Linked DNA regions of Homo sapiens: regions 1, 2, 3, 4, 5 and 7 are each linked to region 6. Evidence: promoter capture Hi-C in 16 types of primary human blood cells and fetal thymus (Javierre and others, 2016). All regions are on one chromosome and are shown on one strand. Each heading gives the region's core, a stretch centred on a gene start or on the middle of the fragment in contact. The rest is flanking DNA. Distances are from core to core; before and after follow the strand shown. Region 1 overlaps PTK2B (protein tyrosine kinase 2 beta). Region 2 overlaps HTRA4 (HtrA serine peptidase 4). Region 3 overlaps DPYSL2 (dihydropyrimidinase like 2). Region 4 overlaps PLEKHA2 (pleckstrin homology domain containing A2). Region 5 overlaps ADAM9 (ADAM metallopeptidase domain 9). Region 6 holds the start of RNF122 (ring finger protein 122). Region 7 holds the start of PLEKHA2 (pleckstrin homology domain containing A2).

Evidence for each region. Contacts are between HindIII fragments. The CHiCAGO score rates a contact against its expected background, and 5 or more counts as called.
Region 1: a fragment that was not itself captured here is called in contact with the fragment with the promoter of RNF122 in region 6 in 1 of 17 cell types (M0 macrophages); the score reaches 10.7 in M0 macrophages.
Region 2: a contact is called between a fragment that was not itself captured here and the fragment with the promoter of RNF122 in region 6, in 1 of 17 cell types (M0 macrophages). The highest score is 7.6, in M0 macrophages.
Region 3: a contact is called between a fragment that was not itself captured here and the fragment with the promoter of RNF122 in region 6, in 1 of 17 cell types (M1 macrophages). The highest score is 5.2, in M1 macrophages.
Region 4: a fragment that was not itself captured here is called in contact with the fragment with the promoter of RNF122 in region 6 in 1 of 17 cell types (M2 macrophages); the score reaches 5.1 in M2 macrophages.
Region 5: a fragment that was not itself captured here is called in contact with the fragment with the promoter of RNF122 in region 6 in 1 of 17 cell types (M0 macrophages); the score reaches 7.2 in M0 macrophages.
Region 7: the fragment with the promoter of PLEKHA2 here is called in contact with the fragment with the promoter of RNF122 in region 6 in 1 of 17 cell types (M0 macrophages); the score reaches 6.2 in M0 macrophages.

Annotation. Positions count from the first base shown.
Region 1 is chr8:27,362,590-27,365,289 of GRCh38, reverse strand. All of the region lies in intron 1 of PTK2B (protein tyrosine kinase 2 beta), which reads right to left. Among named protein-coding and RNA genes, the nearest start is that of PTK2B, 38 kb to the right of the region's middle. RefSeq lists enhancers at 827-1,006, 2,633-2,700. The HindIII fragment of the contact is 1,262 bases long and covers 812-2,073 here.
Region 2 is chr8:38,980,939-38,983,638 of GRCh38, reverse strand. HTRA4 (HtrA serine peptidase 4) reads right to left here. Exons shown (of 9, transcript NM_153692.4): 6 at 1,872-1,986; 7 at 1,084-1,141; 8 at 591-686. Among named protein-coding and RNA genes, the nearest start is that of HTRA4, 8.1 kb to the right of the region's middle. The HindIII fragment of the contact is 9,484 bases long and covers 1-2,700 here.
Region 3 is chr8:26,574,728-26,577,551 of GRCh38, reverse strand. All of the region lies in intron 1 of DPYSL2 (dihydropyrimidinase like 2), which reads right to left. Among named protein-coding and RNA genes, the nearest start is that of DPYSL2, 62 kb to the right of the region's middle. RefSeq lists silencers at 1-425, 466-665 and enhancers at 1-469, 470-1,167, 1,266-1,435. The HindIII fragment of the contact is 357 bases long and covers 1,227-1,583 here.
Region 4 is chr8:38,954,735-38,957,506 of GRCh38, reverse strand. PLEKHA2 (pleckstrin homology domain containing A2) reads right to left here. Exons shown (of 12, transcript NM_021623.2): 10 at 121-184. Among named protein-coding and RNA genes, the nearest start is that of HTRA4, 18 kb to the left of the region's middle. The HindIII fragment of the contact is 3,095 bases long and covers 1-2,772 here.
Region 5 is chr8:39,004,252-39,006,951 of GRCh38, reverse strand. The region is part of intron 1 of ADAM9 (ADAM metallopeptidase domain 9); the gene reads right to left. Among named protein-coding and RNA genes, the nearest start is that of ADAM9, 8.6 kb to the right of the region's middle. RefSeq lists an enhancer at 2,665-2,700. The HindIII fragment of the contact is 432 bases long and covers 1,147-1,578 here.
Region 6 is chr8:33,565,695-33,568,435 of GRCh38, reverse strand. It overlaps RNF122 (ring finger protein 122), which reads left to right and starts at 1,308. Exons shown (of 6, transcript NM_024787.3): 1 at 1,308-1,737. The coding sequence starts at 1,713. RefSeq lists silencers at 1,424-1,543, 1,594-1,663, 1,694-1,743, 1,884-1,933. The HindIII fragment of the contact is 8,620 bases long and covers 346-2,741 here.
Region 7 is chr8:38,900,003-38,902,702 of GRCh38, reverse strand. It overlaps PLEKHA2 (pleckstrin homology domain containing A2), which reads right to left and starts at 1,357. Exons shown (of 12, transcript NM_021623.2): 1 at 1,258-1,357. LOC124901937 (a long non-coding RNA gene) reads left to right here and starts at 1,258. Exons shown (of 2, transcript XR_007060893.1): 1 at 1,258-1,490; 2 at 2,007-2,700. RefSeq lists silencers at 686-1,355, 1,436-1,845 and an enhancer at 2,446-2,695. The HindIII fragment of the contact is 6,068 bases long and covers 1-2,700 here.

The DNA.
Region 1 (2,700 bases), core at 193-2,692, 6.2 Mb after region 6:
GTACAAAAGGAGTAAGTAGTGATCCAGGGACTTACAGCCAAGTTGGGGAGACAGATATCGCCATCAAATAATACCACGCAGCACAGTGTGGTTAGCGCAAGCGAAGGGGACATGAAATTATGTCTGGGGAGCAGCATGGGTGAAGAAAGTTAATTTCATCTCATGGGAAAGGCAGGATATGAGTTGGACCTTCCAGGCTGGATAGGTTTGCAAACAAGAAGACGTGGGTTGAAAGCTATCAGAAAAACTTAGAATGTATATGAGCAAAACTGCAGGAAAGCCTGAGGCTTGCTGAAGATGTCATCAGAAGTGTCAAGGTTTACAGAGGTGACTACCCACAGGTATGCATAGGACAGATTTGCAGGAAGAAACCCTGGGGCAGCAATCGAGTGACAAATGCATTGATTTTGGCAAGAAGTAGTGTCTTACTCAAGATGGGGGCGATAATGAGGAAAAAGGAGTAGATGAAGGAAGATGTCCCAAGGTGGAATCCACAGGAATTGACAGCCAGTTAGAAGAAAAGCGAATATTGCCTACAATCTTCTCCCGTCAATTGGACGTCAGTGAGGCCACTCATCAAGTCAGGATGAGAAGGTGGGGCTGGAAGGTTCTGGGATCACTCATATGCAGGTAGACAAAGTGGGAAAGTCAATAATGCTTGCTTAACTGTAGCTCAAGAATTCATGGCAAAATTCTGTTCAGTCCCTGCAGTACTGAGCGAATGTCTCCCCGCCTCACACCTCCATATCTCTGCCTATCTAAGACTCCTCTTGGTAAAGCCCACCTCAAGTTTCACCTCCGTCAGGAAGCTTTTCTTCACGGCTGCTGTTCCCTTTTCAGCACATCTGGCTTATTGTAAATGTGCTATGTTTACCCTTTGGGGCTCCAGGTTTCTGGTAAGCTGGAAATAATGCGTTACGCACTTCTTTCCCAGTTGTATTTAGCATAGGACCTGGAATTCTTGGAGGAGGCCATCATTCACCCAGGAGTATGGAAACGAACTGCCCTGGCTGAAGCCCCTGAGGTGCATTCTCTGAGCTGCCTGAGGTGCATCGCATGGAAGGCAGCTTACAGCCTCTGGTGGCAGTCAGTGGCACAGAGGGCAAAGCTGAGCACAAGCCACAGCTCTATCCCTTGCTAGTCATGCACAGACTTATTTCCAACTATCCTGAACCCTGGCTTCTTTCTCTGTAAAACGGGACGCTGATGCAGCTGTTTCAGCGCTGTTGTGAGGACTCCTTGCCAGGTGTTTGTATGTAGAGTGTGTGGAGAGCCCCAGGCCCTGGGACTCAGCTGATACACAGGCTCTTAACTTGGGGGAGCTGCTTGTGCGCATGTGTCAAGACAGGCGGCCGGGCCCTAGTCTAATCTTAGCCCTGCAGCGCCCTGGGTATTTCCTCACTTCCTCATCTCCAGCACGTGGGAGAGTAATCGTGGCCCACAGGACTGGGGGTGGGTGAAGCCACCGGTGAGAATTCACATGAACATGTCCCAGGAACGCCAAGTGACTGTCACAGCCCAGCACATGGCAGGTATTTCTGGGGCTTCAGCCAATCAATAGTCATCATGCAGCCTACTCAGACAGGACATGGGAGAGCCCCTGAGCCTCTGCCTGGCTCCGGGGAGGAGGTCCATGATGAGAAAAAGGAGGACTTGCAAGAAGGGCAGGGGTAGACCCAAATCAGAATCAAGAGGCTCAGAGCAGCAAGAGCAGTCAGAGTCCATTCCCTGCATCCCAGACCATGCGGGCACTCCCTCTTGCCCACTTCCTGCTTGAATTCTTCTAGTGATGAGAAACTCACTCTCTCAACATTTCTGCAACCTGTCCCATTGCTCGGAGCTCTAATTATTAAAAAACCTTCCTTTATATTCATCCCAAATCTACTTTTCTGTAACTTCCTGGGCCTGCTCATGGAGATGCACAGAACAAAACCCATCTCACTTCCACCTCCTGACCTTTCACTAGTGGAAAACAGCTCCTCTGCTCTCCCAGGCCTTCCCTGGACCTGCCTCAGTTCCTCCAAACACTTCTCACGAGACGTCCTCTCTGGCTCCCCTCTCTCCCTCAAAGCTTCCCAAAAGCTGGTTCAAGAGGGGCCCTCAGAACTGGGCTGAAGACCACAGAAGTGCTCTGGCCTGACAGGATGGGCTGGCCCTTGTCCTAGTCCCTACTCCAATGAGGGAATTTGCCCAGGGCCAGTGGGATATCCTGAGTTTTTAGTCATTTTCCACCATGACGAGAACAGGAGTGATGCTATCCAAGGAGCTGCTTCCACAAAAATTCCCAGCTGACTCTGGCCATGAGGGTATCCCTGTTTGTCATAAAGACTTGGGAAGATGCTCCAGAGAGGTGACACTGCCGCACCTACTGAACCTCATTTCCACCCAGCGGTTCAAGATTTCGCATGGGAGTGGTTCTAGATTTCGCATGGGAGCAGTTCTAGATTTCGTGTGGGAGCAGTTCTAGATTTCGTGTGGGAGAAGTTCTAGATTTCACGTGGGAACAGTTCTAGATTTTGCATGGTAACGGCTCTTTGCCTGCATCTGTCTCTCAGAGACAGGCTCCCGAGGCTGGGTCCCTCCTGTCACTGCTGGAAGGGGAGGCTGCTACAAAGGGGGTTTGGCAAGGCCAGAGGGCCCCAAGGAAGTCTTGGTGGGGGGAAAGAAAACACTGCTGGGGTCAGGGTGAAGGTGGGGGTG
Region 2 (2,700 bases), core at 37-2,536, 5.4 Mb before region 6:
CGTGATATTTTTAAAATAGTTATTTTACACTCTGTTTCCTATGTCTTTGAAATCCACTTGAAATAACACACCCCCCCAATATACTACTATATAATGATAATATTTTTTTTTTTGAGGTGGAGTCTTGCTCTGTCGCCCAGACTGGAGTACAGTGGCGTGATCTCAGCTCACTGCAACCTCTGCCTCCCATGTTCAAGCGATTCTCCTGCCTCAGCCTCCCAAGTAACTGCAATTACAGGCGCACCCACTAATTTTTGTATTTTTAGTAGAGACGGGGTTTCAGTATGTTGGCCATGCTGGTCTCAAACTCCTGACCTCAGGTGATCCACCCACCCTGGCCTTCCAAAGTGCTGGGATTACAGGCATGAGCCACTGCACCTGGCCTGGGTTTTTTAATTTAAATTAAACTTACTTTAATTCAAAATTCAGTTCCTCAGTCACACTGGCCACATTTCATGTGCTCAGTACATACTACATGTAAGTAGTGGCCACTGTATTGGACAGATCAAGTCTGGATCCCCCATGCATTTTACCATGGCACACATTTAGAAAAAGCAAAGGTAGATGACAAAGGCCTTCACTTCTCTTACCTTTGAGCAGCTGTTCCTTCAACCACTTTACATACATAAACCCCAGAACTCACATCAGGGAAATCTGGATAATGCATTTTCAATTCTTCACTAAGGCTAAGAGAAGTGAGAAGATTAGGAAACAATGAATTAGTCTCCTGAGCCCTGGTAAAAGCCTGAAATTCTTAGTAGGTACTCTGTTCTGCTCAAGGTTCACAAGGGCCGAGGAAGATTCCATCAAGCTAATCACAGTCATTCTCCTCTCAGTTCGGGCTGAGCCTCTATCCCAAAGCCTAGAACCACTGGACATTATAAAATACAGCCACAATGAAATAAACTATGTATAGTTAGTGCTGATGCAGGCAGAGGCAGATACATACCCTGAGACAGATAGGGCCTATGGTCACAAGAGTACCTGGCTGTGGTCCAAGTGGCTCAGCTTTTCTGTTAAGACTGTGCAGCTATGGTTTTTGCCTCTGAAAAACAACCCAGACATATTCAAACACATGCTTACGGCACAGTGAGGGACAGCATTTGCAGACCCAGATATTTCTTATTTGAAAACGCCTTTCCTGGAAAGGAAAGTTATGATGTGTTACAACAAAACCTCTTTCCTGTTAGCGCAGCTTAAAAGACACCCATGTCCCAGGATCTCTTTGCCATCACAGCTGTCCTTTCAGGTTACCTGGATGAAACACAGGCTTCAGAGAACCTTTGTCATTAGCACTTACACTCCTCCCACCCACCTCCCACCTCCAGCCCCTGGGTTTCATTTCCACATTAGCTCAATCCAAATACTTCTGGGTACAACTCATGCTTGGTTTGTGCCTAGTCCCCCAATATTGCTGCTCAAATCACCATTATAGGAGCTGAGTACAAATGAGTGACCCAGTAGTCTACAGGATTCAAATGGCTGTCTCCGGGCCAGGCATGGTGGTTCATGCCTGTAATCCCAGCACTTTGGGAGGCCGAGGCAAGCGGATCACTGGAGGTCAGGAGTTCAAGACCAGCCTGGCCAACATAGTGAAACCCCGTCTCTACTGAAAATACGAAAATGAGCTGGGCGTGGCAGTGGGTGCCTGTAGTCCCAGCTACTCGGAAGGCTGAGGCAGGAGAATCGCTTGAACCCAGGAGGCAGAGGTTGCAGTAAACCAAGATCACGCCACTGCACTCCAACCTGGATGACGAGCAAAATTCTGTCTCAAAAACAAAAACAAAAAAATTGCTGTCACCACAAAAGATTGAGTGTTCCTGAAAAGCACAAGACGAAACCAAAAAAAAAAAAATCCCAACTTGCTTTACCTTTCATCTGGTGCTCATGGTATTCTGCCAAGAACTGCCTAACTCGATCTGAAGGAATTGCAAAGGAGATTCCATCAGTCACCCTCAATGAATTGACGCCAATCACATCACCATCCTGGCAAGGGAGGGGACATCATTCAGTCATGAAGTTTTGCAAACTGATGAGTGCAAGACCAGAACAAGCAGAAGAAGGAGTGAAGCTAGTTACTTAGGGTCAGAAAACAGGGCCGAGAGGAACTTTGTACTTCAAAAGAGAGCAACGGATGTTCCTTTATAGGGCAAATAGTGTGATGGGACAGCAAAGGGTAACTGCACATGCGCAGAAGTTACCTTCTTTTCATGGCCAAAGGATCAAGGATGCTGAGGACTTTTTAAAATCTTGAGCTCATGGCTGGGCAGAGTGGCTCACGCCTGTAATCCCAGCACTTTGGGAGGCCGAGGCGGGCGGATCACGAGGTCAGGAGATCGAGACCATCCTGGCTAACATGGTGAAACCCCATCTCTACTAAAAATATAAAAAATTAGCCGGGCCTGGTGGCGGGTGCCTGTAGTCCCAGCTACTCGGGAGGCTGAGGCAGGAGAATGGCGTGAACCCGGGAGGCGGAGCTTGCAGTGAGCCGAGATCGCGCCACTGCACTCCGGCCTGGGCGACCTAGCGAGACTCCGTCTCAAAAAAAAAAAAAAAAAAAAAAAAAAAAAAAAAACTTAAGCTCATTTTTTTCCTTTAGTAAGTTACATTGACTTTAAAAGTGAGCCACAGTTTGTATTTTGACAAAGGTAGAAGGACAAGGAGCATTTGCCTTTTTATTATTTAAAAGTAAAAATAAAC
Region 3 (2,824 bases), core at 156-2,655, 7.0 Mb after region 6:
CCCCGGTCCCTGCCCGCCTGCGCGCCAATCCGCGGAGGCCGCCGCGGCAGCCCCGCGTGGGGTGACTGCGCCGAGCCAATGGCTTCGCTGGCGGCGAGCGCGCGACTGCACCGCCGGCCGGCGCCGCGCAGCCCGGGAGGGCTCCCGGGCCCTCCTCCCCCGCCGTTGCTGGCGCTGAACTCGCCTGGCCCCCGCCCTGGCGCGGCTGAGGACTGGAACGGCGGCGGGCGGGAACCCGGCGGGGAGGGCCCGGCCACGCCCGGCCCCGGAGAGGGCGGCTGCTTCCCGGGAGCGTCCGGGCCCGGCTCCTGGGGGCGGGGAATGGGCGCGGGCCGGGGGGAGGCTGCAGAGACGGGATCTGGCCCGCGTGGAGGCGCCGGGCTGCAGGAAATGAGAGCCCTGAGGAAACCCTTCCAACTCCGAGCCGGGAAGGAGGCATCCGGGGAAGGCTGCGGGGTATGGGAAACCCCGCCCTGAAACATCCTTTTGTGCCTTCCGGCCGCGAGGAACTTAGTAGGGCGGAGGAATGGGGAGCAGCCGCAGCCCGCCGAGGCCGATGTGGCGCGATCTGCGCTCTGTGCGCCCGCTTTACAGTCACGCCCACCTCGGCTCCCTGAGGGGTGCGTGGGGGCGCAGCGCATTTCGCTGGTGCCTGCAGCGCTGTCGGGGGCAGCTGCTGCGATCCCAGCGCCCCGGGGTCCTGAGGGTTTACAGTGCCAGTGGATGGGACCCACACCGCACCGTGGGGCGGAGAGGAGGAGATGAGCTGTGGAGGAGCAAGAAAGGAAGAGTTTATATCCCACAGGAAAGGGAAACTGAGTCTTGGGGAAAACCTACTGAATCGGAGTTAAAATCAAGAGTGTCCTGACTGCCCAGGCAGAGCCTTGTCACTTCAAACGGCACTCAAGGCCCCTTCGTGGTCCTAGCAATTGAGCAGGCCTGGGACCCCTTAGCTTTGCCTGTCCAAGCCATGCTGGGATGCTCTAACTTCAGGGTCCGTGGGAAAGAAAAACGCTGATCCAGTTGATCCTCAGGAATCTACCGAGGCCAACCCCCGTGGGAGGTTGCCCTGGCAGGTACAATAACTAAAACATCTGGACCAGCCCTCGTAGCGCTCGGGCTTCTCTGCTTGAGGTCGAAGGATACATAGAATCCCTACGTAATCATGGGCTGGGGGGTGGGGGAAGAAAGAGTATGTAATTGGCTCACACCTGCTCAGCAAAGCTTAGCTAGATAAATACGGAATAATTCGAGCTGCTGTGGGCCTGACTTCCAATCTTTCTGCCCTTCACCACCTTAGCCACTTTAGGGGAATGTCTGTCCTTCCAGACTCAGAGAAGGTGTAAAATTCTCCTTTTCACTCCTATATCTCTAAAAATCTGAAGTCCCAGAAAGTAGCCGTAGGGCACGCACAAAGTTTCACCGATGGTTAATTCATCCAAGTTCAATTTAGCTGTGCATCTGAAAGAGAAAGTGAAGCACTTCCCCCTCCAGCAATCTGATATGCCGCAAGCAAGGTGAGATGATGTCGGCAAGTATTGCTGTCAACCGGTAATGGTTAAAGTCACGAGTCTGAGAAAGCTTAAAATACGCCTTTCTACTTGGCCTCTCTCTACTTGTGAAAAACCAACAGTCAGTCCCAGCTTTGCGGAGGACAGGGCAGTGGAGAGGAGTGTCCTATTAGCTCACAAAAAAACTACTTGGCAAGGGAGTAAATAAAGAGACTCAAATTAATTTAAAACAAAGTAACCTATAATTATATTGTTTGTATTCTTGTTGTATTCCCTACCCCCGTCCCTGTTGTTTGAGCGTAATGGGTTTAAATATATCTTGTTATTTACCAGTTTACCATAGAATCGTTTGTTTTGTAATAAAAGCTTCCAAGAGCTTGTGTCTGTCTCATTGGCTTCAATTGTATAGCCATTGCTATGAGGTTCTTAGTCCATAATAACTGACGTTTCCACTCGTAAATATCCAAAAATGTAAGGTATAAACTGATTTGTCTGTTCTGACTAGAGCCTAAGAGAGTATTTGGCACATAAAAGATACCAAACAAATGGTTTAAATTGACCGAGGAAGAGAACTGTCTGCAACCTGCATTTCTTACCATATTTACCATTCAGCGCAATGAGGAAAAGTAAAAAAGGGCCGAGGAGAATCTTCCACCTGCTTTGCACTGATGAAGGTGAAAAAAAAAACAAAAAACCACAGGTAAACAGGCCTCACACTTTTACTTCAGAGATCCTTGTAAAAATAAATGAGAGGCTGGGCACAGTGGCTCACACCTGTAATCCCGCACTTTGGGATGCCAAGGCAGGCAGATCAGTTGAGCCCAAGAGTTGGAGACCAGCCTCAGCAACATGGAGAAACCCCGTCTCTACAAAAAATACAAATATTAGAGACTAGGCTGGCCAACATGGTGAAACCCCGTCTGCACTAAAAATGCAAAAATCAGACGGGCATGGTGGCTGGGGCCGGTAATCCCAGCCATTCGGGAGGCTGAGGCAGGAGAATCACTTGAATCCGGGAGGCGGAGGTTGCAGTGAGCCAAGATAGCGCCACTGCACTTCAGCCTGGGCAACAAGAGCGAAACTCCATCTCAAAAAAACAAAAACAAACAAAATAAATTAGCTGAGTGTGGTGGTGGGCACCTGTGGTCCCAGCTACTGGGGGCAGGGGAAGGTTGGGGCTGAGGCAGAAAGATCAGTTGAGGCTGGGAGGCTGAGGCTGTAATAAGCCATGATCGTGCCACTGCACTCCAGCTTGGGTGACAGAGTGAGACCTTGTCTAAATAAATAAATAAATGTTTCTTATACTTTCTGTA
Region 4 (2,772 bases), core at 244-2,743, 5.4 Mb before region 6:
AAATTTACTGCCTAGAAACTTCAAGCAAATGAAAAGAGAAAGCAAAGGAAAGGACACGGCCTGTGAGGGCACCATTCACAGAAACAGAATGCTGGAGTCTTCTGGAAGGGAGCATTTTACCTGTACGTAGAAGGTCCTGGAGCTTGTTATTATTTCAAACAGGTTGTCCCTCATTAAGAGATCACTAGACAGAGAAAGAGAAAGAATGTTATGGCGTGCTGACATACTCAGAGAGGACTCGATATGTCCTAAGACCCCAGTGCCCTCTACCATAAAAAAGGAAGATGGGTGGGGGGTGGTTCCAAGCCATTCTTCCTTCAGCTCCTGCCTTGAAAAACACTCCAGGGGTTTCCTCTAGCTTCATTTCCTAGAGGGTCTCAGGAGGCTTTGCCATCCAGATGGACCCTCCCCAGGCCCCTCTCCCACCAGCAGTTCTAACAAGCTCCTTTCCCTCCAAAACCTCCTGCCTAATATCCAACCCCACCACCACCATCTCCTACAGTTTCCTTCCTTCCTGCCTCCCTCCTTCCCTCTAAGGTGTATGAAGTGCTTTGTGGGAAGCACCGTTTCGGGTGCTTTTTTGTAGATTATTTCATCTAATCTTCACAACAGCCCCGGGGGGCACTTAAGACTTCCCCCATTTTACAGATGAGGAAACCCAGACCCACACTCAGGGTCAGAGCTTAAATGACTCCTCCAAGTTGCTGGAGATTTGGAACCTAGGTCTGACTCCAGAGTCTCTGCTTTATTTATTTATTTTTTTGAGACAGGGTCTCGCTCTGTTGCCCAGGCTGGGGTACAGTGGTACAATCATGGCTCACTGGGGCTACAGGCACATGCCACCACTCCTGGCTAATTTTTATATTTGTCATAGAGACAGGGTGTTTCCATGTTGCTCAGGCTGGTCTTGAACTCCTGAGCTCAAGCAATCTGCCTGCCTCAGCTTCCCAAAGTCCTGGGATTACAGGTATGAGCCACTGAACCCAGTGAGCCTATGCTTTTAATTACTCCACTGCCATTGGCCTCTCCTAAGGGAGCCAACTCTCCGCTCCCTAAACCGTCTCCTCCACCCTCACAGCAGCCCCATCAACCTCACTCAGCTCCTGCTCCTTGCCTCACTGTGCGGGGCCCAGGAGACAAAGAGCTAAAGAGGAGGAAAGCAAGGGGAGAGGAGATGACCTCAGGGCACTCCTTTAGGGGACACTGCTGGGTGTGGGTTTTGGAAAAGAAATCCTGACTTCTGCAAGGAAGAGGGCGGGGAGTAGATGATGCTCAGTGACAAACCTCAAAGCAGCCCAAGTTATTTCCCAGTGTTAAATGCCTGCCGCGTATATCCCCAGCCACTGCGGGGAATACATAAGGAGTAAAAGATCTAATTCCTACCCAGTGAAAGAACATAAGGGCCAGGCGCAGTGGCTTACGCCTGTAATCCCAGCACTTTGGGAGGCCAAGGCAGGCAAATCACTTGAGTTCTAGGCCAGCCTGGACAACATGGTGAACCTTGTTCTCTATAAAAAAAAATACAAAACTGAGTCAGGTGTGGTGGCACACATCTATAGTCCCAGCTACTCGGGAGGCTGAGGCGGGAGGATCACCTGAGCCTGGGAGGCAGAGGCTGCAGTGAACTGAGATTGCACTCCAATCTGGGGACAGAGCAAGACTCTATCTCAACAACAACAAAAAAAGAACATAAGGAAGCAAAACTGTACCATCAGATGTTAGATTGTGTGTTATATGCCAAGAGTTGGAAAGGACTGATCACAGGTGGGGTTGGCTTTATGAATGAGAAAGCCTGCAAGAAAATGGCACTACCTCGGCCAGTGCCACAGGTACCTGGGCAAAGGAGTGCATGAGACCAGAGATCCATGAGCAAGAACAACAGGATAGGGGCCAGATAGACCTGGGGTGAATCCTGACTACATGTAGGGAAGAGATGTTTGAGAATGTTGTAAAAACTTGGGGAGCCTTTGTGACCCCAGGTATAAAACAGAGACAAATAAGAGGACCCCCTTGATCAGGCTGGTCACTACAAAGACCAGTTAGTTATAAGGTACAGAAGGCATCCGGCATAATGTATGTCACAGAATAGTCACTTGAAGCAAATTTCACCAACTATGATTACTTTCTGAGTTTCTGAATAAAAAATGCCTCTTTCTGGCTAAAATGTCTTAGCCTTTCAAATTCTACTCATGCATAGCCAGTAAAGTCACATAAACAACTATTGAGGAGGTGAAAGAAAAGCAGGTGGGAAATCCCCACTCCTTTCACATCTACTTCTCAGGGTGGGAAGGGCAGGAGGGGGGTGAGGGATAAAAGACTATGCATTTGGGCACCGTGGACACTGCTGCAGATGGGTGCACCACAATCTCAGAAATCACCACTGAAGAACTTTTCCATGCAACCAAACACCACCTGTTCCCCCAAAACGATAGAAATTTTAAAAAATGTAAAAATTTATTTATTTATTTATTTGAGACAGAGTTTCACTCTTGTTGCCCAGGCTGGAGTGCAGTGGCACGATCTTGGCTCACTGCAACCTCCGCCTCCCGGGTTCAAGCGATTCTCCTGCCTCAGCCTCCCAAGTAGCGGGGATTACAGGCACCCACCACCATGCCCGGCTAATTTTTTGTATTTTTAGTAAAGAAGGGGTTTCGCTATGTTGGCCAGGATGGTCTGGAACTCCTGGCCTCAGGTGATCCGCCCGCCTCGGCCTCCCAAAGTGCTGGGATTGGATTACAGGTGTGAGCCACCACGCCCGGCCTAAAAAGATAT
Region 5 (2,700 bases), core at 113-2,612, 5.4 Mb before region 6:
GGTACTTTTAATATCTGATGGGTTAACTCTGACAAATACATACTCAACAATGTAGCCACGCTTTCAAATTATAGCCATTAATCCATCACAAAAACACAAATTTTAAGCAAAATTTCTTAACAGTTAAGAGCTCTGAAAGTCATGCAGACTAACTCCCATTTCCAATTCTGTTCAGTCTATCCGCATGGAATCATGATGTCTTAAGCAGGGCTTGGGTTCTAAAGTCATCACTTGAATTGAAATTGAGTATAATCAAAATTGCCAACACAAATCTCTTAGGAAGACACACCATGTGGGAGTCCAATACATAGTCTCTCGATAAGTCCAACACAACCTCTTTTTCTTCCAGCATTATTACCAATGGCTTAACCCTTACTAACCTCACCTCTAGATGACTATGATACCTTTTTACCTGGTCTCCCTACTCTCATACTCTCCTCCTTTGATCCAATCTATATGTTCATTCACTCATGAGTTTCCTAATACCCCTCAGATTTCTCAAATATAGATTAAGATGAATTATTTACATCTAACTTTTTCCAAGATAACATTGTATATAAAATGTTTATAATTTTGTCTGGTTTGGGATTAAAAAGATACAAACAGCTGCAAACAAGAAACCATAAATTATATCATATCCAATGTACTGCATGTATAAACAGCTTTTAAACTCTTTACCCATCAATCCCTTATATTTCTGTAAGAATCTGTTTTCTTTTGCACAGGACACAACTGGAGAAACTGGTTATTTTACCAAGTTTTGACTGGAATGTTGTGCTTTCCTTTAAGGAATCAAACTTGATTTATAGAACCGATAAAAGCCCCTTGAGAAAACTGGCCACATACCTTGTCTACACAGTCCCTGTACGAGGTTCCTGATCTGTTGTAAATAAAGACTGTCACTATCTACAGTCCCAGGTGTGTCAAGTTATCTTGGGACCTCAAGAGGAGAGGAATTTACCCAACTCATACCTGTATTTAACTGTGCAAACCCATGGCTGAGCTCTGCTTTAAAAAACATCTCAGGTGAGATTCCTTATGGAACAAAGTTCCATCAAAGCCAATTAAAAAGTGCCTATGTGGCAAATAATTATTCTTACTGCAATTATTTCAAACAATCAGGCCAAGCATAATAAGACTAAAGCTTATTTTGCTACCCATCATATCCTATCAGTCCTATCATGATTTGTTTTTAATGAAAATGGAGGACAGGAAAGGGAAAAATTACGTTTCAAGAACTATAGTACACCTGACATTAAATTCTAGTCTCATCAGTTGTTTCTGAGTTTTTCCCTGCAATTTGGACTGACTCTGCTTATTTCAGTGAACCAATCAGTGATCTCTAACTGCAGCTCAGAATAAACAAGAGGGATGGCTAATGTTAACATCTGGATCAGTATTCTAATTCTGGGCATATATTGGAATCAGTTAGTGACCCTATATCAGCTGGGTTCCAACAATTGCCCAGTTCATGGAACAGCTTTCTATTTAGTTTACTTGGAATAATTTTACTTATTTGCTATACTGTCATGAAATATATTGCTATTGTAATCTTTGTGTAGGAATGCAGGATAAGCTTACTGAATGTTTTCTTAAATTGAACACTTATTAATTATTAATCTTACTAATCTTCTAGATATCACCTTTTGTGTTGTGAACTCAACAGAACTCAGAGTTGTGAATGGCCCTCAGCATAATGACGTTGTGTGACTGAGCTCCTCTCTACCCCGGATACAAGATACCCTATAGTTAGGCAGGAACATGATTGCCCCTATTCAGCCTGAAGAAGTCACAGAAGATAGATCTTTGTCCCTCTACAATCTTTAGGATTAAGGTTCCCATGTAAAAGGATGAGGGAAAATATGTCAGCAGCACTCAGACCAGACTGACTCCAACTTGAATAGAGGCTGGATAAAATAAGGCTGAGACCTACTGGGCTGCATTCCCAGAAGGTTAGGCATTCTTAGTCACAGAATGAGATAGGAGGTCAGTACAAGATACAAGTCACAGAGACTTTGCTGATAAAACAGTTTGCGGTAAAGAAGCCAGCTAAAACCCACCAAAACCAAGACTGCGAGGAAAGTGACCTCTGGTCGTCCTCACTGCTCATTATATGCTAATTATAATACATTAGCATGCTAAAAGACACTCCCACCAGCACCATGACAGTTTACAAATGCCATGGCAATGCCCAGAAGTTACCTTATATGGTCTAAAAATCCTTGCCCCTTTCCCAGAAAACTCATGAATAATCCACCCCTTGTTTGGCATATAACCAAGAAGCAACTATCAGTATACTCAGCTGAGCAGCCCGTGCCACTGTTCTGCTCGTGGAGTAGCCATTCTTTTATTCCTTTACTTTCTTAATAAACATGCTTTCACTTTTTAAAAAAAAATTCTCTTTAAGTAAATCATTACAGACAAGATTACATATGCTGGCCAGGCATGGTAGCTCAACCCTGTAATCCTAGCACTTTGGGAGGCCAAGGCAGGAGGATCACTTGAGCCCAAGAGCTCAAGACCAGCCTGAGCAACAGAGCAAGACCCTGTCTCTTCAAAAAAATTTAAAAATTAGTGGGGCATGGTGGCACATGCCTGTGGTCCCAGCTACTCAGGAGGCTAAAGTGGAAGGATCACCTGAGCCTGGGAGATCAAGGCTGCAGTGAGCCATGATTATGCAACTGCACTCCAGCCTGAGCA
Region 6 (2,741 bases), core at 59-2,558:
CACTCTAGTTTACAGAACTTTATTCAGTAAACACTGGAGACCAACAAACGTTATCAAGCAAAGAAATGTTCAGATTTACATTTTACAGAGATAATTGTGACCAGAAGGGATGGACTTGAGAGTGAAATCAGAGCACTGTTTCTTTCAATAGCCGCATGAGAATTTGAGGGGTGGGGAAGACAAGGCACATTAAAATGAAAATTTCTGGGTCCACCCTTTATTGAATCAGAATCTCTGGGTTCAAGGCCTGGGAATCTGCATGTTACATCTCAAACATAGGAGTGATTCTTGTAGGCTCTGAAGTCTGAGCTATAGACTAGAATCAGAATGGCCAGTTAGGAAGCTTTTGCAATTATCCAATTAAGAAATGAAATGTCCTGGGTGCCATGGCTCATGCCTGTAATCCCAGCAATCTGGGAGGCTCAGGCGGGAGGATCACTTGAGTCCAGGAGTTCGAGACCAGCCTGAGCAACATAGTGAGGCCACTCATCTATACAAAACAATTAAAAAGTAGCTGGGCTTGGTGGCAGGCACCTGTGGTCCCAGTTTCTTGGGAGGCTAAGGTGGCAGGACTGCTTGGGCCCAGAAGTTGGAGGCTGCAGTAAGCTATTATTGCACCGCTGCACTCCAGCTGAGTGACAGAGCAAGACTCTAACTCAAAAAAGAAAAAGAGGGCCGGGAGCGGTGGCTCACGCCTATAATCCCAGCACTTTGGAAGGCTGAAGCAGGAGGATCACTTGAGGCCAGGAGTTCGAGAACAGCCTGTCCAACATGGCGAAACCCCGTCGCTATTAAAAATACAAAAATTATCTGGGCATGGTGGTAAGCGCCTGTAATCCCAGCTACTCAGGAGGCTGAGGCAGGAGAATCACCTGAACCCGAGAGGCAGAGGTTGCAGTGAGCTGAGATCGCGCCGCTGCACTCCAGCCTTGGCGATAGAGGCAGACTCTGCCTCCAAATACATAAGTAAATAAATAACAGATCTGTAGGCGGAAAACAATGTGGCAGTAATTGTTCCTTTGCCTTGGTGTCCCTGGGCAAAAGGCAGGCCCCCACTCCGGGGCATCGCTCGTCGCCGCTCCATTCTCTGCAGACCGAAGTTTCCCCAGGCCTGGGAAGACTAAGTGGGAGGCGCCCACCGTGCGAAGATCCTCCCGGCTTCCAGGGAAGGGAGGCTGGGCCTGCAAATAATAGCCGGGGGCAGGAGAAAGGCTCCGATTGGTCGGAGGGAGGGTGACGAACAAGGGGCGGAGTTTTCCTGGGGACTGGTGGGGGAAGTAAAAGGGAGGGGGTGTGCACCGCCGGGTGTCAGTTTCGGAACCCCAGCCAGCTCACCTCTGCGCCGCTGAACCCGATCCGAGCCTCCGGCAAAGGTTTTTCCCTCCTCCCCCGGCCGAGGGCTTCTGCAGCCCGGGCACCCCCGCCCCGCGGCGCCCCACATTCCCCCAGCCCGGGGCCCTTGGCGCGTGCGCTCCGTGCGGCTGTGCTCCGCGGGACTTTGTTTGTTTCCTCCTCGTCCCTCTTTGTTGGGCTGAACACCAGCCTCGTCAAAGCCCCCCACTCCGGAGGGAGTTCGGCTTCTCCAGCAGGGCGGCTGCAGCGCGCTGCCCCGACCCCGCCTGCGGCCCCTCACGCCGCTAGTGCTCCCACCCCGCCCTCCTGGCACCCCGCCTGCGTCCGTTCGCCCGAGGAAGCCAACCGCGACTTCATTGATGCACCCATTCCAGTGGTGTAACGGTGAGTCCCCGGGGCGAGGGCCGAGCCTACGTGGGGCTGGTGGGAGCCGCGGCGCGGGGTGCGAGGTCGGACAGCAGCGCGCTGGTCCTCCCTCGGGAACCAAGTTTCTCCTGAAATGGGACAGTCGAGAAGGCGTCTTGGCGCCCCACTCTGCTCTGCACAGCGCGGAATTTGAAACTATCCAGGTTTCACTCCAGAGCCTGGAAGGGGCCTCCGGACTGGCGGCGGGCCGGGGGCGTGGGAGCCGAGGGGTTCCCGGCCTTTGTGTGGCGGCCCGGCTCTTCTACCCCCTTCCCCTGCCTTTGTGCGCTCAAACTCTGTTCTTTGTTGTGGTTGTTGGAGGAGAATTAAATCCGCACTCGGGCTGGGATCTCCTAGAGGGAGCTCAAGTTCCCGGCCTGAAACTTTGCAGGCTATTGTAAATATGTATACCGTGCAGCGTGCGGGACTGGGCGCGGGGGTAGCTTCCTCTGGCTTTGTTGGTTTCCCACGGGCTGCTGGCGTGGCTTGGGTGCTTGCGGAAGACTGGATTAAAGAGTCGCTTTCGGCCAGGCGCGGTGGCTCACGCCTGTAATCCCAGCACTTTGGGAGGCCGAGGCGGGCGGATCACCTGAAGTCGGGAGTTCGAGACCAGCCTAACCAACATGGAGAAACTCCGTCTCTACTAAAAATACAAAATTAGCCGGGAGTGGTGGCGCATGCCTGTAAGCCCAGCTACTTGGGAGGCTGAGGCAGGAGAATCGCTTGAACCCAGGAGGCGGAGATTGCAGTGAGCCTAGATCGTGCCATTACACTCCAGCCTGGGCAACAAGAGCGAAACTCCATCTAAAAAAAAGCCGTTTTCCTGAGTTGATAAACCCTCGCAGAGAGCTCCGCGCCCGGCTGTCCCTGGGGTGCGAGGCTGGCCTGGCGGGAGCCGTGTTTCTGGCCACAAGGCCAGATTAGGGTGTCTGCTCCTGAGCCCAAGTGAAGGCCACACCTCCAGACGCGACAACCCCTCGCCC
Region 7 (2,700 bases), core at 108-2,607, 5.3 Mb before region 6:
TCAAGATCTTTTGCTTTGCTGTTTCGGAAGGCTTCGCAACCAAAGAAAAAAAATGACAAAAGAAGGGAAAATGGGACTTGGTCAGATAGATTAAGAACACCATTAGTGCAATCTTGGGACTTCAGCCCCAAGTGCATCTACAGCTCAGCCTTCAGAGCCCCCAGAGCCACAGCTGGCTTTCTGGTGGGGTGCTCTCCCCTCCCTCTTCTCTGCCGTTTACTGTCCTCTGAAAACCCCACTTGGAGCCCTAAAGAAAGAAAGGGGGCGGGCAGGAAGAAGGAATGAGAAGGGGAAGATACATCCTGAACCTGCGTTCACCAAGAAGGAAGGAAGCCAAACCCTAAGGCTAGGGCCTGGGGGCAGGGCTGGCCCCGGGGAGGAGATGTGAGGGTGCTCCGGCCGCAGCGGGCCCTGCGCCCCTCTCTGGGCGTGCAGGGACACTTTTCCCTTCTAAACGGCCTAGCTTCCCACCACCCCCCCCCACACCCTTCTTTTCTCTTTCTTTTTAAAAAAATTTTGGTGAAATCGTCTTTAGGACTGGAGGAGAAAAGGGAAGCGTGTAAGGTGAGGAAGAAGTTGGTGAGAGAGAGAACGACAGCTCCCCTCGAGGGCTCACCCAACCTGGCACCGAACCTGCATTTTAGGGCAGTCCTTTTCACTGTCTGGAGTTCCAGAAGCCCGAAGTCCAGGCTGCACCCAGAGGAAAGGACAGGAGTCCCTAGGGGAGCCTTCTAGGCCTGTCATTTAATAAGGTAGTCGGGGGAGTGAAAGAGGAGTCTCCATGGCCCAATCCGTACCCAAGGGACTTGCCTGGGGACGTTCTCTGCTCTCCTCCCCTCCCGCAGCCCGGGCAGTCGTTGCGGGGTCGGTGCCCCAGCGCCAGAACCCGCAGAGAAGTTTCGCTGCTGCAAACGTGAGAAAATGCAGCTCAGCAGAACTCCCGCCCCCACCCTCTCCGCGGCCCCACCCCCCGCAGCCCGACCCCTGGCGGCGGCGACCTTGGCCACCCGGGGCACTTGGAGGAGGGGCTGCCCTCGGGGCTCTCCCAGAGGGTTGGAGGAGGCCTCCAGGGTCTGCGGCCACCTCCCCTCGCCTGTCAGCCACTAGGACCGGCGTATTCAGCCCTGCGCGCGCGCCCCTCGCGCCCCTAGGCCGCCAGGCCTCCGCCGGGGCGCCCCCTGCACCCCCAGCCCCGCCAGCCCCCGCGCGCCCCTCTGCGCCTCTCCACTCCCGAGCCCGCGAGGGCGCCCAACTTACCCCCCCGTGCAGGGGCCGGGGCTCGGGCGGGGCGCGTTACATCGGGCGGGGTCGCCCCTCCGGCCGCCGGGTCCGCCGCGCTCCAGGGATTTCTGGGTCTGCCTGCCAAACTCTCCGCGCCTCTCGCTCCCCTCGCTCTGGTCTCCCCCAGTGCCCCCTCCTTCTCTCCCGTCCCTCGGCTCTTTTTTCCGGGTTAATTACGTTTCGCATTAAAGCAAAACCCAGCCCCGGATGTGAGTACAATGCTCCGCGGAGCCCGCCGGGGAGGGAGAGGGGTGCCGGGGCGCCGCGGGCTGGGAGGGGGTGCGGCCGGGCGCCGGGGCCGCGCGGGGGAGGCGGGGGCGGGGCGCCCGGAGGCTGCGCCCGAGGCCGCCCGCGTTCCGCGCCTGGCAGGTGGGACCTGCGCGCCGAGACTGCCCCGCGGGGAGGCCCGGCCCCGACGCTCGCTCGGGCAGCAGGTGTCCGGGCAGGGGGCGTCCTCGCAGGAGGAGGCGAGCTGGAGCGCGAGCTCCCTCAAGAACCCCATTTCCTCCTCCCAGAGCCCCACCCAGCGACCTCAGCTGGGCCTCCTTCGGATCCCGAGCCCTTAGCCTTTGGGGACCGAGGAGTTGGGGTAAGGGTTAGGGTCCCAAGAAGAGTGGCTTCTTCAGGTTGTCCTAAATGTGCCCTAAGAGACCAGTGGGCGGGAACGCTCTAACCAGGGTTATAAGGACTTTAATTTCTTTATTTTATTTTATTTTTTAATCAAGACAGGGTCTGGCTCTGTCGCCCAGGCTGGAGTGCGGTGGCGCAGTCATAGCTCACTGCAGCCTCGACCTCCTGGGTCCAGCGATCCTTCTGCCCCAGCCTCCCGAGTAGCTGGGACCACAGGCGCCTACACCGTGCCCGTTGGGACTTTTTCGGTGTGATGCGAAGACTCCCTTCCTGCCCCCAGAGCATGAGGGTGCTCTGGGAAAAAATGGGAAACAGACAAGCATGTGTTACTACGTAAACCTCGCCAAGAGGAACTAAGAGAGCTGCTGTGCGCGGGTCCCGCCCCTGCGCTATCTCATTTGATCCACGCCGCAACCTATGGGTACCAGTCCGGTTCACGGTGAGGAAACCGAGACTCAGACTTGTGAAGTAATTTGCCCTGGGTACCCAGTTAGTAAACGGCAGGTCTGTCAGGTTCTGACTCCGGCCTCCCACGTCGGGAGAGAGACATTTGAATATGCATCAAGTCAGGTGGACAACATCCGAAACATGAAAATGTAGAAGATTCGCGCGGGCCTGCGGGGCCGTGCGCCGGTGTCTGGCGATCCTAATGCAAACGTTGTTAATCAGGTGTAAATCCTACGAGGCTTTGAAAGAGGCAGGCATAAGAAGACGCTGAGGTTCTCCAGGACAAGGACTGGATTTGCAGGAAGGAGGGAGAGGCTGGGGCACATTCCCGGTGTTAACAGA